3 separate regions of the Homo sapiens genome follow, and regions 1 and 2 are each linked to region 3. Evidence: promoter capture Hi-C in human tissues and cell types (Jung and others, 2019). All regions are on one chromosome and are shown on one strand. The core of a region is centred on a gene start or on the middle of the fragment in contact, and the rest is flanking DNA. Distances in the headings are between cores, read along the strand shown. Region 1 has its middle 9.4 kb from the start of TRPM8. Region 2 has its middle 140 kb from the start of SH3BP4. Region 3 holds the start of ARL4C (ARF like GTPase 4C).

What was found. Contacts are between HindIII fragments. The study calls those that stand out against the background at their distance.
Region 1: a contact is called between a fragment that was not itself captured here and the fragment with the promoter of ARL4C in region 3, in 1 of the 25 tissues and cell types used here (heart left ventricle).
Region 2: a fragment that was not itself captured here is called in contact with the fragment with the promoter of ARL4C in region 3 in 1 of the 25 tissues and cell types used here (mesenchymal stem cells).

The regions. Positions count from the first base shown.
Region 1 is chr2:233,905,508-233,910,472 of GRCh38, forward strand. No RefSeq gene overlaps it. Among named protein-coding and RNA genes, the nearest start is that of TRPM8, 9.4 kb to the right of the region's middle. The HindIII fragment of the contact is 4,889 bases long and covers 1-4,041 here.
Region 2 is chr2:235,090,335-235,094,977 of GRCh38, forward strand. No RefSeq gene overlaps it. Among named protein-coding and RNA genes, the nearest start is that of SH3BP4, 140 kb to the left of the region's middle. The HindIII fragment of the contact is 3,221 bases long and covers 1,714-4,643 here.
Region 3 is chr2:234,494,593-234,499,494 of GRCh38, forward strand. ARL4C (ARF like GTPase 4C) reads right to left here and starts at 2,489. Exons shown (of 2, transcript NM_001282431.2): 1 at 1,420-2,489; 2 at 1-1,244. The coding sequence starts at 1,994. The coding sequence ends at 1,214. RefSeq lists silencers at 2,067-2,166, 2,277-2,566 and an enhancer at 2,751-3,524. The HindIII fragment of the contact is 18,774 bases long and covers 1-4,902 here.

The DNA.
Region 1 (4,965 bases), core at 347-2,846, 590 kb before region 3:
AAAATCATCCCTTCTCTCCATCATCATTATCACTCTCCTCACCTCTTGTTGGGACCATATTGTTCCTTTGTTTCCATTCTTGACTTGACCACCAGAGAGACACGGGGCGATCTCCTAAATCCCAAATCTGGCATTGATCTTGTGATAAGCCTGTTCAGTACTTACGTGTTGCTTGCAAGATAAGTTCCAAAGTCCTCTACCAGGCCATAGAAGTCCCCCTGCCCACCTACTCAATCTCCTGTCCTCCACATACACCCCACCCTTTACTCCAAGCTCTAGCCACACCCATCGATTTGCTGATCCTCACCCTGTGTTTTGGTTCATGCTCCTTCAGGAACATGGTGGAGGGGCAGTCTTTTCTCATTCCCCTGGGCCATGTTGCTGTCCCTTTTGGGGACTCCTATAGAAACAATGCCTACATCCATCAGTAAACCCACTGCGTTTTAATTCTCCATTTCTGTATCTTCCTCCTTGGCTATATTGTAACTCCTTTCAAGTAGGCACCGATTCGTATGAATCTTTATAACTTCAGTGCTCTGCATTAGGCCCGTACATAGTTGGCACTAAATCACTGCTAGGTTAATGAATGAATTGAGTAATAAACTAAAGAATAAATCAATGAGTAAAAGGAGAAGGTAAATATGAGAGGGTGTGTCTGAGCACATGAGCCAAGGGAGAATTGCCATTGAGGTCCATGCTCTATGCAGACAGCTGCTTGAGCAGCAGCAACTTGAGAACAGCAAAATGCACTTAGGGAAAAATCACTGAGACCTTCCATTAAGGTTTGATGTGCAATGATGGTTGGCCATGAACTTGCATAGCAGAACAACAATCCCAGGGAACAGAGTCCTCATGCAAACAGAGCCTTTCCACACATGAAAAATGTGACGCTTGTTCATCTGACTTTTATTGAGTCCCACCATGTTCCAGTCTCTGCTTCTGGCACTGGGGACACACTGGTGAAAAGGCTAGAAGGGGAGAGAGACCATCAATGATGTGTAACACTGCACTGAAGATACTAATGTCAAGTAGTGCTCAATGCAATAATGAAAAACAAGGCAAGCTGATATGACAGAGTGGCTAGGGTGGGGGATGAGCAAGGGCCTCTGGATGATAGAATGGCTGAACAGACACCTGGAAGAAGATAATAATAATCAGAATATAATAATGATGATGATGGGGCGGGCGCAGTGGTTCATGCCTGTAATCCCAGCACTTTGGGAGGCCAAGGCAGGCGGATCACCTGAGGTCAGGATTTCAAGACCAACCTGGCCAACATGGAGAAACCCCGTCTCTACCAAAAATACAATAAAGTAACCAGGTGTGGTGGCACATGCCTGTAATCTCAGCTACTCGGGGGGCTGAGGCAGGAGAATCCCTTGAACCCGGGAGGAGGAGGTTGCGGTGAGCCGAGATCACGCCATTGCACTCCAGCCTGGGCAACAAGAACGAAACTCCGTCTCAAAAAAAAAAAAAAAAAAAAAAAAGATGAGCACTTCAGAATGCTTGCTGTGTGCCACGCACTATTTTGAGTGCTTTATTTGTATTAACTAATTAAATATCTCTGAGGATGATGTAAATTTCCATTTGTTACATTTACATTTGCCAAATTGCTACTTAACAAAGAAGAAAACTCTATTTTCTATTTGCACAGAGAGGTTACCAAGTTCACATAGCCAATGATGAGCAGCGGTCTGACTCTTCAAAGTCCAAACTCAAATCATAATTTATTTGCTGTTAATAATCATATTGATAATATTAATAGTTATAATCACAATGGTGAACAGTTCTTAAGAAAAATATTGCTTTGTGTGCTTTACATGGGGTTGACTCATTTAGTTTTCACAAGAACTCTGGGTAGATACTATTATTATTTTCATTGTTTTCTAGATGAAGAAATAAGCTCAGAGAAGTTACAAAAGTTGCTCAAGATTACACAGGTAAAATGGTGAATTTGGAATTTTCACCCAGGCAGTCCTCTTTTGAAGCCTGAGCTCTTAACCTCTGCCTTATACATTTTTAGGCAGCCAGGTACTAGAAGATCTGGGGGAAGGAGTTGTGATATAAAATGAAAGCACTAAGAGCCCAAGAAGGAATCAAGGGAGAGAGCATAGGGAGACAAGGTCATAGGTTGTTTTAGACAGGGTCATAGGTTGTTGTAGATCATCATTTGGAGTGGATTGTTGTAGATCATCATAGGGAGTGGGCTGTTGTAGAACATCATAGGGAGTGGGTTACTCTAGATCATCATTTGGAGTAGGTTGTTTTAGACCATCATAAGGAGTGGGTTGCTGTAGACCGTCATTTGAGTGGGTTGTTGTAAACCACCATAGGGAGTGGGTTGTTGCAGAACATCATTTGAAGTGCGTTGTTGGAGATCATCATAGGGAGTGGGTTGTCATAGACCATCATCTGAGGGGGTTGTTGTAGACCATCATCCGAGTGGGTTTTTGTAGACCATCATAAGGAGTGGGTTGTTGTAGACCATCACCTGAGTGGGTTTTTGTAGACCATCATAGGGAGTGGGTTGTTGTAGACCATCATCTGAGTGGGTTGTTGTAGACCATCACCTGAGTGGGTTTTTGTAGACCATCATAAGGAGTGGGTTGTTGTAGATCATCATTTGAGTGGGTTGTTGGAGACCATCATTTGAGTGGGTTGTTGTAGACCATCACGTGCAGTGGGTTGTTGGAGACCATCATGTGCAGTGGGTTGCTGTAGACCATCATTTGGAGTGGTTGTTGTAGACCATCGTATGAAGTGGGTTGTGCTGACTACAATGGGAAGCCACCTGTCAGTCTGAAAAGGGGACTGATATAATCCAAGAAGTATTTTGAAAGGATGACTTTGGAAGAGGGTGTGGAGAATGGATCCTGTGAACAAACTGGAAGCCAACAGACTAGCTAGGAGCTGTCGCCAACTTCTAGAAAAGAGATGGTGGCACCTTGAATGAAGGAGGTCAGCAGCAGTGACCAGAGAAATGGTCAGATTTGGAATACACTGAATCAGATTTGGAGGCAGAAATGACAAGTTACTGGTGGACTGGGCCAGGGAAAAAGAGAAGAACCAAAGATGACTCCGGGATACTGGTCTGAGCAATTAGTTGGCCAATAGTGTAATGAGCTGATGTGGGGAAGAGATGCAGGTTTGGATTGGGGGTGTGGCTTGGAATCAAACACTCTGGGACCTATTAAGTCAGAGGTGCTTATTAGACACAAGAATGGAGACATTAAAGATAATCCTTGGAGATTTCTTAAAACATGACTTCTCCCACCTTAAGCTTAAGGTATAGCTTAAGAAGGCAGCTGGAACAGCCTCAACTTCTCTTTGAGCTTCATCTGGGCCAACCTGTCTCCCTGTACCTCTTACTCTGAGTGACTCTGAGTACGTGCATGTGTGTATGTGTGTGTGCATGTGCACACGTGCGCCTCGTGAGGTTCAGCAAAGAGGTTAAGCAAAAAGACCCTGGAACCAGATGGTCTGGATTTCAAGCCTGCCTCCACCACTCGCCGGTTATGTAACCATGGGTAAATTACTTAATCTGTTTGTGCCTCAGTTGTAAAATGAGGTTGATGATACCAGTAGTACCAACTCACAGGTTTCTTGGGAGCTTCAGTGAGTCAGTACAGGTAAAACACTTAGAAATGTGCTGACATACACCAAGTACTCAACAAATGTTAGCTAACGTCACAGGGGAGTGTGCACCCGTGCACATAAATGTAGAGAGTGTTTGTGACTGGAGAAATGTTAAAAATAGAAATTCTTTATTGGATAAATGGTTTAACACCTTCCTGCTTGAGATAGCACTATTAGAGTATGGATATAAGGGGCAAAAGCTGAACAGATCCTTGCTTGTTGGATACCGCATCAAAACAGACTCGAACCTCCTAATAATAGGTACCTGTTTCTTCCTTACCTAACAGTCTCAATTTTTACAAGACTGAATTCCTTGCATGTGGAGTTTTGCCTTAATCATGTCTGAATTTGCAGCCCCCAGCCCAGAGGCTGGCAGCCAGCTGATACCGGACAGGGTTCACAGGGGCCAGCGCTCTGTGGAGCCCATTCTTCCTCTGGAAAATGTCTTTCCCATCAGGTTACTTTGGGGGCAAATATTCAATTATCTGGGGCTGCTTGGCTGTTTTTGTCTCTGGCATTTGAACCCATCTCCACTCAGAGACCACTCTGTGGGATGGTAATATTTCTAATAATCCTAATTGTTCATTGCTTTTCATGTTCCCTTTTCCATTACACCTCACTGCCCATAGCCTTCATGCTTTTAAGTAGCATTCGGCATCTTCCCTGTCTTGGGATGGGTTTCTCGTCCCCTAGATCAGAAGGAAGATGGAGCAGTTCTGCTAACCCGAGTGGTCCTGGAATGTGTTTTTCTTCCCATGCCGTTACCACATAAAAGTGGTCAGAAATCACTCAGATCTTATTTTGTCTTCTCAATCCAAGTTTCGGTAATTCAGATAAAAGGTAAGAAATGGGTTCTTAGTGCCCGGAGCTGTAAACTGGGATAGAGGTCATGTAGGCCAAGGTCATATAGGCCAAATGGATGACTATGTGAATTTTTAATATAGAAAATAGTTTCATTTTCTCCCACACTCAAAAGCTGAAGCACCCTTGGGCTGCAGTCAGGGCAAAAATATTTCCTCAAAAGCCCAGTTCCCCTAACCTCATTTGCTTTGTCTAGTACTTGAATGCAGATATTTAAATGCAGTTTCCTCTGAGCCTCTTTGAAATTATCTACTTTACATTTCATCTCCTCTTTCTAATTCCTTGCTTATCGACATCATTGACAAGCTTGAGTCAAGGAACTTGTCTGACAGTCGAGGGATGTTAACACATTGCTGTTAAAACACAGTCTTGTATAAGGAGTTTACCTCTGTCTCAGCAGTGGTTCACATTTACTGATTCTTTACTCTTTAGGATGCCCATGCTTTACAGATCTCTGCAGGCAGTGTT
Region 2 (4,643 bases), core at 2,074-4,573, 600 kb after region 3:
AAGCGCTGCACTCCAGCCTGGGTGACAGAGCGAGACTCCATCTCAATAATAATAATAATAAAAACAAAAAACCCAGATGAGCCTAACTATATGCCAAATTGATATTCTAACCACACAGGAAAAGAACAATTAATTCAGGTAACTTTTGAAAAGTGTACTTTGATTGTGCACCTTCCAGTGGGATAGATTTTAAGGACAAAAGAGCTTCAAAGACATGTTGACATTTACTTAATAGGTTTGCTTTCAGCAGTGACATTGGTGTAGTAATTACAAAACTATTTTGTGGGTTTGTAGGACTGGGCAAATGAAGAAATATGTAGTTATTGGAAACCCAGGTCCTCACAGTGCGAGAGATAAACATATATGAGGTGCGGGAATGTGAAGAAGAACCTATTGGTGTGGGATTGGAGGTGGGAGGTAAAGGCATCATCACATGAACTCATGATTTTAATTTAAAAAAAACTATGTTTCGTATCTCTGCCTATTGAAAGGGAGAAACAGTGACACAATAGCAGCAAAGAGCACACTTGCCACCTAGACTTTGGTTGGTTTTCTTCCTTCCTTCTTTCTTTCTTTCTTTCTTTCTTTCTTTCTTTCTTTCTTTCTTTCTTTCTTTCTTTCTTTCTTTCTCTCCTTCCTTCCTTTCTTTCTCTCCTTCCTTCCTTCCTTCCTTCCTTTCTTTCTCTCTCTCTCTTTCTTTCTTTCTTTCTCTTTCTTTCTTTCTTCTTTCTCTTTCCTCTTTCTTTCTTTCTCTCCCTTCCTTCTTTCCTTCCCTCCCCCTCCCTCCCCCATCCATCCATCCATCTTTCCTTCCTTCCTTCCTTCTTGTCTGCCTTTCTGTCTTTCTTTTTTTTTTCTTTTTCTTCTTTTTTTAAGACAGAGTCTCACTCTGCTGGATTGCAGGGGCGCGCACAATCATAGCTCACTGCAGCTTTGAAGCTTTGAATTCCTGGGCTTAAGTGATCCTCCCGCCTCAGCCTCCCAACTACAGGTGCCCACCACCACCACACCTGGCTAATTTTTTTTTTTTATTTTCGTAGAGACAGGGGTCTCACTGTGTTGCCCAGGCTGGTCTTGAACTCATGGGCTCAAGCGATCCTCCTGCCTCGGACTCCCAAAGTGTTGGGATCACAGGTGTGAGCCACTGTGCCCAGTCTCATTGGTGGAGAATGGTGTTTAGAAACCAGGCCTTGGTTTGGTTTCTCCACCAAAGGGGAAAAGGGTGATTCCAGGCCTGGAGCACGGAAAGTATGAGGTCAGCCTGAAATGTCTTCTAGTGTCAGAAGGAAGGGTGTACCCAAAGACTAGGCAAAGAATGTGAAATTAGCAGACTTAAAGGGCCTCCAACTGGCGGCATTTGGGATGGTTTGAGTGTTTTCTAAAAATGGATTACAACACATTGCATTTTTAAAAAAGCATTCACAAATCCAAAATAATTCCAAAAAGTGATGTTGGGGGCAGATCTTCTTTACAGAACAATTCAGGTAATAAATAGATAAGAAACAATAGAATTAGAAAAAAGTTACCATTTTGTAGCCACCAATGTCATAGTATATTCAGATAAGAATATATTCAGGGCGTGGCTGGAGGAGAGAGGCAGTGGCGTGGGGCAGGAGGCTGGCAGAGTGGATGCCCCTCATCAAAAGAACAAGCTCCACCTTCCCCAACCTGAGAGTCTCTGAAAACAGGACCTGGCCCTAACATTTCACGTGTCCAGCGTGTAACCCTGGCAGCCACATTGTGGTATGGATGTTTTTCAAAATCCTTTCCTAACACCCACGTTTGACTGCAGGGAAGTTCAGTGACCAGGCTGCCAGGTCACTGTTAAACAATGGCTTTGGGAACACAGTCCCCATCAGCCGGCATTTGCCTAGAAGGTGGCACCGGGACAGAGGGCAGCCTTCAGCCCACAGCCATCCCAGGAAGACTCCTGCCCAGCCAGTGGGTCTGCTGGGGGCAGCTCCTCAGCTCCAAAAACCTAAAATCGCTCAGAGGCGAGTGAGAGTGACAGAGTGACCACAGAGTTCCCGCCAGGTGCCAAGAACGTGAGGAGGTGGAGGCCCCTCTCCTGGAAGCCTTGCAGGCGTCCTCCAGGCCCATTTGGAATCCCCACCCCACGTTCAGTTCTCTTAGGACTCTGTTAGCAGAAGAGAGGCATATTTGTTGAAGGCCATGCCAATTCCACAAGTTCAATAATTTTGCAAAGGCTTGGACTTTTCATGCTGTTCACGAGCTCAATGCTTCCTCCTCCTCCCCACAAGCACCAGGGCATCCTCACAGATGCAGCAAATCCTGTTTGCTCTTTTGCCGTGTGCATCAAGGTCAGGCACACCAAGGGCGCGCTGGCCTTGGAGACAGGTCCGGTCCCGGTCTCAGTTCCAGAGTGACCTTGGGCAGCCTTTTATTTCATCACTGGTGGCTTCGTCTCTCATGTGGGACGGATTATCTGCCCCATGGGGTGCTTATGAGCACTAAATGAAATTAGAAGCTTGTGAGAGTTTGAAACTGCTTTCTTCCGAATGCGGTTTCGTGCCTTCCATGCAGCTGAATGCCTGCCCTCGGCAGCAGTGATAGTTAATCAGATGTGGGTTTCCTTGCACTTTGAAGCCTTGGAAGAACCCATTGGGATTTGGAGATAATTGCAGGTATTCTTCAGCTCATCAGGACCAGAGTGATCCAATATAAACAAGGAAGAGTGTGCTCTGGGTAACCTGCTGGCTTCTGCCGGTACAGGCGGGCAGGCCTCACTGTCTGTGCCTGAGTCCCTGCGCTGCTCTGCAGCCATCTACCTCGTCTTGCTGATGAGCAGCTGCTGCAGAATGAGGGATTGGGAGGAATTACTAGAGGTCCACCCATGGCAATGTAAAACCAAACCAAACCAAAACAAAAAAACAACAAACAAACAAAAACACAACAAAGTACTGCTATTATTATTTTTTAAAACAGCTTTCTTTCCCCCAAATCTCCATTTTTCATTTCAGAGAGCCTATGCCAGCATCTATAGAAACCCAATATGTGCATCGATAACCAGAACCTGGGGCAGCACTGATGGGGATTTCCAAGCATCTGGAGTAGTGCTGGTAAAATCCACACCCTGGACTTCATTCACCACTGAGGCAGCAAACTTAGGGGATTTTCCAGAAGATGAGGATGAAGAGTTTGGGAGCACATCAGATGCCAGCTGGCAGTGAGGTTGAGGAAGCGAGGTAGAACGGGATCTTAAATGAATCAAAAGAAACCCAGTCATCTGAACTGGGTCATGCTGGAGTTGAAAGGGTGTTGGGCAGGTGTGGAAACCTAGACACAAGCATTGGCAGGACCCTTCTAGCTCCCTGGGGCTGAATGAAGCTTGCCTCAGGGGGTTTGTGCAGTCAAGTATCCTTGGCACATACCCCCTAGGATGAGAGGAACATCCCAAGGTCAACCTTCTTCCAATTCTTTGTGCATCAAGCAGTGTCATCATTCCAGCTGCCCTGGCAAACAGCCTACAGAAGAAAGTGTTCCCTGAGCCATGTCACACGGACACCATTCTGTCCCATCAACAATCACCTCTCTTCTTATTGATGGATAAATTAGCCTCAGGGTTTACACATCAGTTTTTATGAGTCTAGTTAACTTGTGTCTGTCCTTGAGAAAGATAGGCATTGTCAGTGTAATAACAAAATCGGGTTTCTGGAAACCAGAGCTGGGGTGCAAAGAATTCACCCAGGTCAAGGCCCTTCCCCCCAAGAGGTGCCTGCTTGTGTGGCCAGCCCAGCTGCACTTGAGGCTGACTTGCATTGAGGCTCAGTGTATGTAGTCACATGAGAATCATTGTTAAAGAATGACAGATCATGGCCGAGCGTGATGGCTCATGCCTGTAATCCCAGCATTTTGGGCCGAGTCAGGTAGATCACAAGGTCAGGAGTTCAAGACTAGCCTGGCCAAAATGGTGAAATCCCGTCTCTACTAATAATACAAAAATTAGCCAGGCATGGTGGCAGTTGCCTGTAATCCCAACTACTTGGGACGCTGAGGCAGAGAGTTGCTTGAACCTGGGAAGCGGAGGTTGCAGTGAGCCGAGATCACACCACTGCACTGCAGCCTGGGTGACAGAGTGAGACTCTGTCTCGAAAAAAAAAAAAAAAAAAGAATGACAGATCACATTTCCAATTCTTTAGGTTAACATATATGCTTTTATGTTACTCTCTGTGTCTAGTCTCCCTTTTATTGTCACTGTAAATGCTAATAAAATGTTCAATAAATGCTGATTTATTTAATAAATGGATTGATTTATTTAATAAAAGGACTGATTTATTTAATAAAATATTGAGCCTATATTTATTAAATATATTTATTAAATTTATTAACTGTATTTCATGTATTTATTAAATTTATTAGATATATTTAATAAATATAGGCTCAATATTTTTGACTGAAAATGACTAAATACCAGTGAGGGCAAAAGGCAGACTGTATGTGAAAGCACTTTAAGATAAATATGCTTTATAAATACAAGTGATTGTAAATTACCCAGCGGGATTTCATTCTAACACTGGCCACACATGGGACAGGACTTACATCCAAACCATGACCCAAGTCTGCTTTATGGGTTTCATGGTTGTAAGCAGTTTCTCACTCACGCCTTCACTTTATCCTCATAG
Region 3 (4,902 bases), core at 1,239-3,738:
AAGGTGGGGTTTTATTTTTTTGGTGCATGACATCAAATACTCTAACGAGACATTTTTAATGAAAGACTTAAACCAGATAGGCCACAATGAACCAAATTAGAAATCTGAACATGTCACCACTTGCAGCATAAAGGAATATAAAAGGGCAGAGCAAAGTCTTTTTTCCTAAGGTGAATATTTCTAAGGTAAGTATTCATTTGTAAAAGTTTTTTTTTTTCATCATGTCTGAAAACCCATTATCACGCGGTTAGTATTACAAGAGACATCCCTTGGTTAAAAAAAAAAATACCATCTTGCAATTCAGCACACACCTGCAGCTGGTGTGCTCATCCAAACCAATCAGTAGGCTAAGAGAATTTAAAATTCCATACATATGAGTCTAGGTATTAATGCCGATTACACAGTACACAGTACAGAGGGAGGTCCCTATATCCACACACACACACACCCCATCCAGCATTTACACCAAAAGCCTTACCCTTTAAACACCTTTAACTATCCTGCAAACAGTAAATGCATCATTGGCCACCACCTCCAATAGTTCGTCTTTTTTTTTTTTTATTTTTTTTATTTTTATTGGTCTCTTTGTGTGATAATGACCTACACATGGACAGGGTCCAAACCATCTGGAAGATGTCTGATTCCAGGCTGAAAAGCAGTTCTCAACAAAACTGGTCTTCTGCAGCCACCACAAAGCACCAGGAAAAGGGCACCTCCGCGGCCATCCCCAGCCAGGCCAGCACAGCGCTCCGTGCCCGCTGAACCGTCCCAGGCAGTCCTCTGATGACCCAAACCACCACCACCTTTGGGCCCAGAGCAGGACAAATGAAATTTCAACAGGGGCCTGCCCTGTGACCGAAAATTACTCAGCTTCACAGCCCCTGAATGCAAGGAGAGGTGGTCCCCCCAGAACCAACATGCCCCCCAAGGTGGGTACGCCCACGGTTCTGGGAAATGCATACCTCAGGTAATTCACAGGTGCGATCCCCCAGTGGAGGCGGGGCAGCCTGAACTTCTGGCCCTGCAGGAGTGGGAAGAAATCGCTTTTGTCTTTCCGACAACTGAGCCTTCCACCTGGGGCTGGGAGGGCGGACAGCAGGACCGGCTCTTCCACTCCCCACCGCGGCCCCCCGACCTGGTCAGTAGCTCTGGCGTTCAGACAAAAGGTCCCCTGAGCTGGGGGTGGGGGGCAGGTCGAGAGTAGGCCGGTAAATCAGACTTCGCAGCTCCTTAAGTCACCAGTCCTGCATTTGGGTGCAGAGATTCCGTTTTAAAAATTCGAAGCATCGCTTTGGTTCGCTCTTTGTTCGCGGGCGCGGGTTCTCGCTCATCCATCCATCCATCCATCCAACCATCCATCCATCCATTCATTCTTTCTTGACGCACTCGCTCGCTCCCCGGTCGCTCCGGGCGCATTACCGCTTCTTCTTCTGCTTGAGGGACTTCCTGCGTTTCAGGATCATCTCATAGAGCTTGTCCATGCCCTCGGTGAGGCCCTCGCCGATGATGGCGCACGCCGGCTGGACGTGATAGGTGGTGGCCGGGATAAGCTCGTGCAGCGCCAGCTGCTTCTCAATCTCTGCCACCGGCAGCGACTTGGGCAGGTCCTGCTTGTTGGCGATGACCAGCAGCGGCGTGCCCTGGTTCTCGGCGAACTTGGTCACCTTGTGCAGCTCCGTCTTGGCCTCCTCCAGCCGGTCCACGTCCACCGAGTCCACCACGTAGATGATGCCGTCCGTGCAGCGGCTGTAGGACTTCCACAGCGGCCGCAGCTTCTCCTGGCCGCCCACGTCCCAGAAGTGGCAGCTGATGCCCTTGGCCGTGCCGTTGCTCAGCTTGATCTTCTCGGTGTTGAAGCCGATGGTGGGCACCGTGTTCACGAACTCGTTGAACTTGAGCCGGTAGAGCACCGTGGTCTTGCCGGCCGAGTCCAAGCCCAACATGACGATATGCAGGGACTGGAAGGCCGAGATGTTAGAGGAGATGTTGCCCATGGCTCCTGGCTGCGGCGCCAGCCACTGCGGCTGCGGCGGGAGGGCGCCGCCCCCCGAGCAGTCACGGGCCCGACGCGGCCGGGCGCACCTGGGCCCCGCCCGCCGCCGCCCGCACCGGCCCCGGGGCTCGGCGTCCCCGCGGGCGCACGGCTTGGCGCGCTCAGACGCCGCAGTCCCCGCGCCCTCGCCGGCCGGGCTCGCGATCGGCGGGCATCGCGTCTCTACGCGCGGCTTTGTCTCCCGCGAAGCCGCCTCAGATGTTCGGCGCCCTCCCCAGGCCTGGGCTCGCTCTGTGGTTTCCTCGGGCCGCGCCCCCGCGCTCCGGCAGCTGCCCGGGCTCTCCGCTCTCCCGGCGCCCGGCGCTCGCCTCTGGCCTGGGACGGCGCTGCTCCTGCTCCTGCTCCCGCTCCCGCTCCCGGAGCGCGGGCTTCCCCGGGAGTCGCTGTCCGCTCGGCAGCCTCACAGTCCCCGCGCCGCCGCAGCAGCCGCCAGCCTGCAGCGGCCGGAGAGCTCCCGGACCCGCCCCCTCGCGCCCCGCCCCGGACCCGCCCCCGGACCCGCCCCGGGCCCCGCCCCGCCCGCCGCCGGGGGTCAGGCGCGGTCCTCCCCGCCCAGCCGGCCGTTTTCGCGCGCTTCGCTGCGTCCCCGCCGCCCCCCGCCGCCCCCCGGCCCCTCCCGCGCCGCGCCGCGCAGACACAATGGGCGCGGAGCCGGCTCTTCCTCCCCAGCGGCTGACGCGTTTGCAAAAATAGCTCTCGGCTCCCGGAATCCCCGCCCGGGTCCTAGCCCGCCCCCTGCCCCTCCGGGCCGCAGCCGTGGGCGACGCAGCCTGCCTGAGGGAGTGGGTCCCGGGGTCCCAGCTCTGTGGGCGCGAGGCGGGGCAGGGCGGCCCCCAGGGTGACTGGGAGAGCGCCGCTCTGGGGAGTGAGGGCGGCGAGGCTGGGGCCTCCAAACCCCAGAAGGGACGGGACGGGGCTGGCCTCGGTGAGCTGCCAGCCTGCGCTCTGGATCCAGCCGGGCGCGTCCCCTCCCACCCTCGCGCCGCGGCTGTCGCCGGCCCCGGCCCCCAGTGACGCCCAGGCTCGCCTCCTGCCTGGGTTCCAGGGGGCTGCACCCGGCCAGCGCCGCCCTCCGGAGCCCAGGCCTGTGCCCAGGGCACCCTGGAGGCCCAGCCTTTCTTGCCCGGTGGCGGCGGTTGGGGCAGGGTCGGACCTAGGCCGCGATGGGGGATTAGAAGACCTACCTGCCCCAAGTAGCTCGGACAGCTCACCCTCCCAGACACGCCTGGGCTACCTCATTTCGTCCGCATCGACTCTGCTGACATCCCAGGGGAAGCGTCAGCATTTCGGGAGAGCACCCCTTGCCACCCGACTTTGGGAACTGAGAACCACCTGCCCGCAGGTGAACTACTCCGCAGAAATGGCAACACCAGCCCCGGGGGCTGAAAGAAAATGTGTCTACAGCTTGGAGCTGGTGGCGCAGTGGGTTACAAACACTGATATTCCACGGGTTCCACCTCCTGTCACCTCAGTTCAATGGTTTTATTCTGGTTTGTAAACATGTAACAAATGTATATCCTCTCTGGGTGCGGAGAAAAGTGAGAGTATATTATGGCAAACACACAGATCTGGGGAGAGCTGCTCCGCAGGAGACAGCAGGCCGCAGCATGGGCGACCGCATCTTCCCAGCTCTAGCTTATGAGACAGAAACGACGGAAACGGGGTCAAGGGAGAAGAAAATGAAAATGCTAAGAATTTATGAATAAAAGCTAGAATTTTAGAGAAATACTTTATCACCTTCTGTTCACAAACCACGAAAAGACATATGATATCGTTGGTACCAAAGCATGTGAGAAGACCTCACCTGTAGAAGGAAGGACAAGCCACCACCACCCCTATCCTTGGAATTCCCAAGGTGGCAGCCGGAGCGACCATCCACTCTACTGAGTGGATTTGGGGCTGGAAACGAAGTATCAGGCTGGAAAGGACCCTGCCTATCATTCCACCCAACGTTGTCCAGTGAGGTAACAAGGCCTAGGCGCCCGTGACGGCTAAGGCAGAACCTAGAGGCCCACTGCCTGCTCCAGGACCAAGGGTCTGTATGCACAAAACTGGGCACCTGCCTGCCCTCTTCCTCACATCCCACTCTACCCACACGCTATTTCCTTCAATGAGGAATAAAGTGAGCCACCCGAAGGATAGAGTTCAACAGAAAATATTGGCTGCACTGTGCCACTTACTTCATTTTAAATAAAAATGGAAATGTATTCACTGACATCACTGAAAAGTTAAGGATAAAGGTCCTCTTCAGGCATGGCTAGACCCAGGAGCTCAAAAGGAGTCTTTCGAGCAGGTGTCTCTCCAGTCCTCCTCCGTGTTCCCCTGTGTTGATTCTTTTTCCTTCTGGCAGCCTTGGACTCACATCCTTGGTTTAGATCCTGGAAAGGAAAAGGTACAACTCTTTCCCAGTAACTCTAACCAAAGCCTGGAGCACGCACCCTGGATCAAGGACTGCAGTCCAGGAGGAGGGAACACACCAGTGGATGTGGCCCAGGGGTTGAAATCGGGAAGGGTGGTTCTCCAAGAAGAATCCAGGATCTGTCACCAAAAGAGCAACTCTAGTGAGGCAACAGAAACAACATATGTTGGCATAATTCATAATGATGATGTTTCCGTTATTGGGAACCCTGGGGAGACAGGATTTTGTGTTTTTGGAGTGATTTTCTTGACTCTCTTTAATGCCTGCCCCATAGATAGCCAGCTTCTCATGAGACTGTTTCTTGTTTCTCTTTCTTCTCTGCCACAGGCAGGGCCGAGGCTGAGCCCCAACCCAAGATGAGCCTTTGGTTTAGTAGCCTGGGACCTGGACATTTGGAAAGAGACAGATCAGACTGGAAGCCTCTCCATCC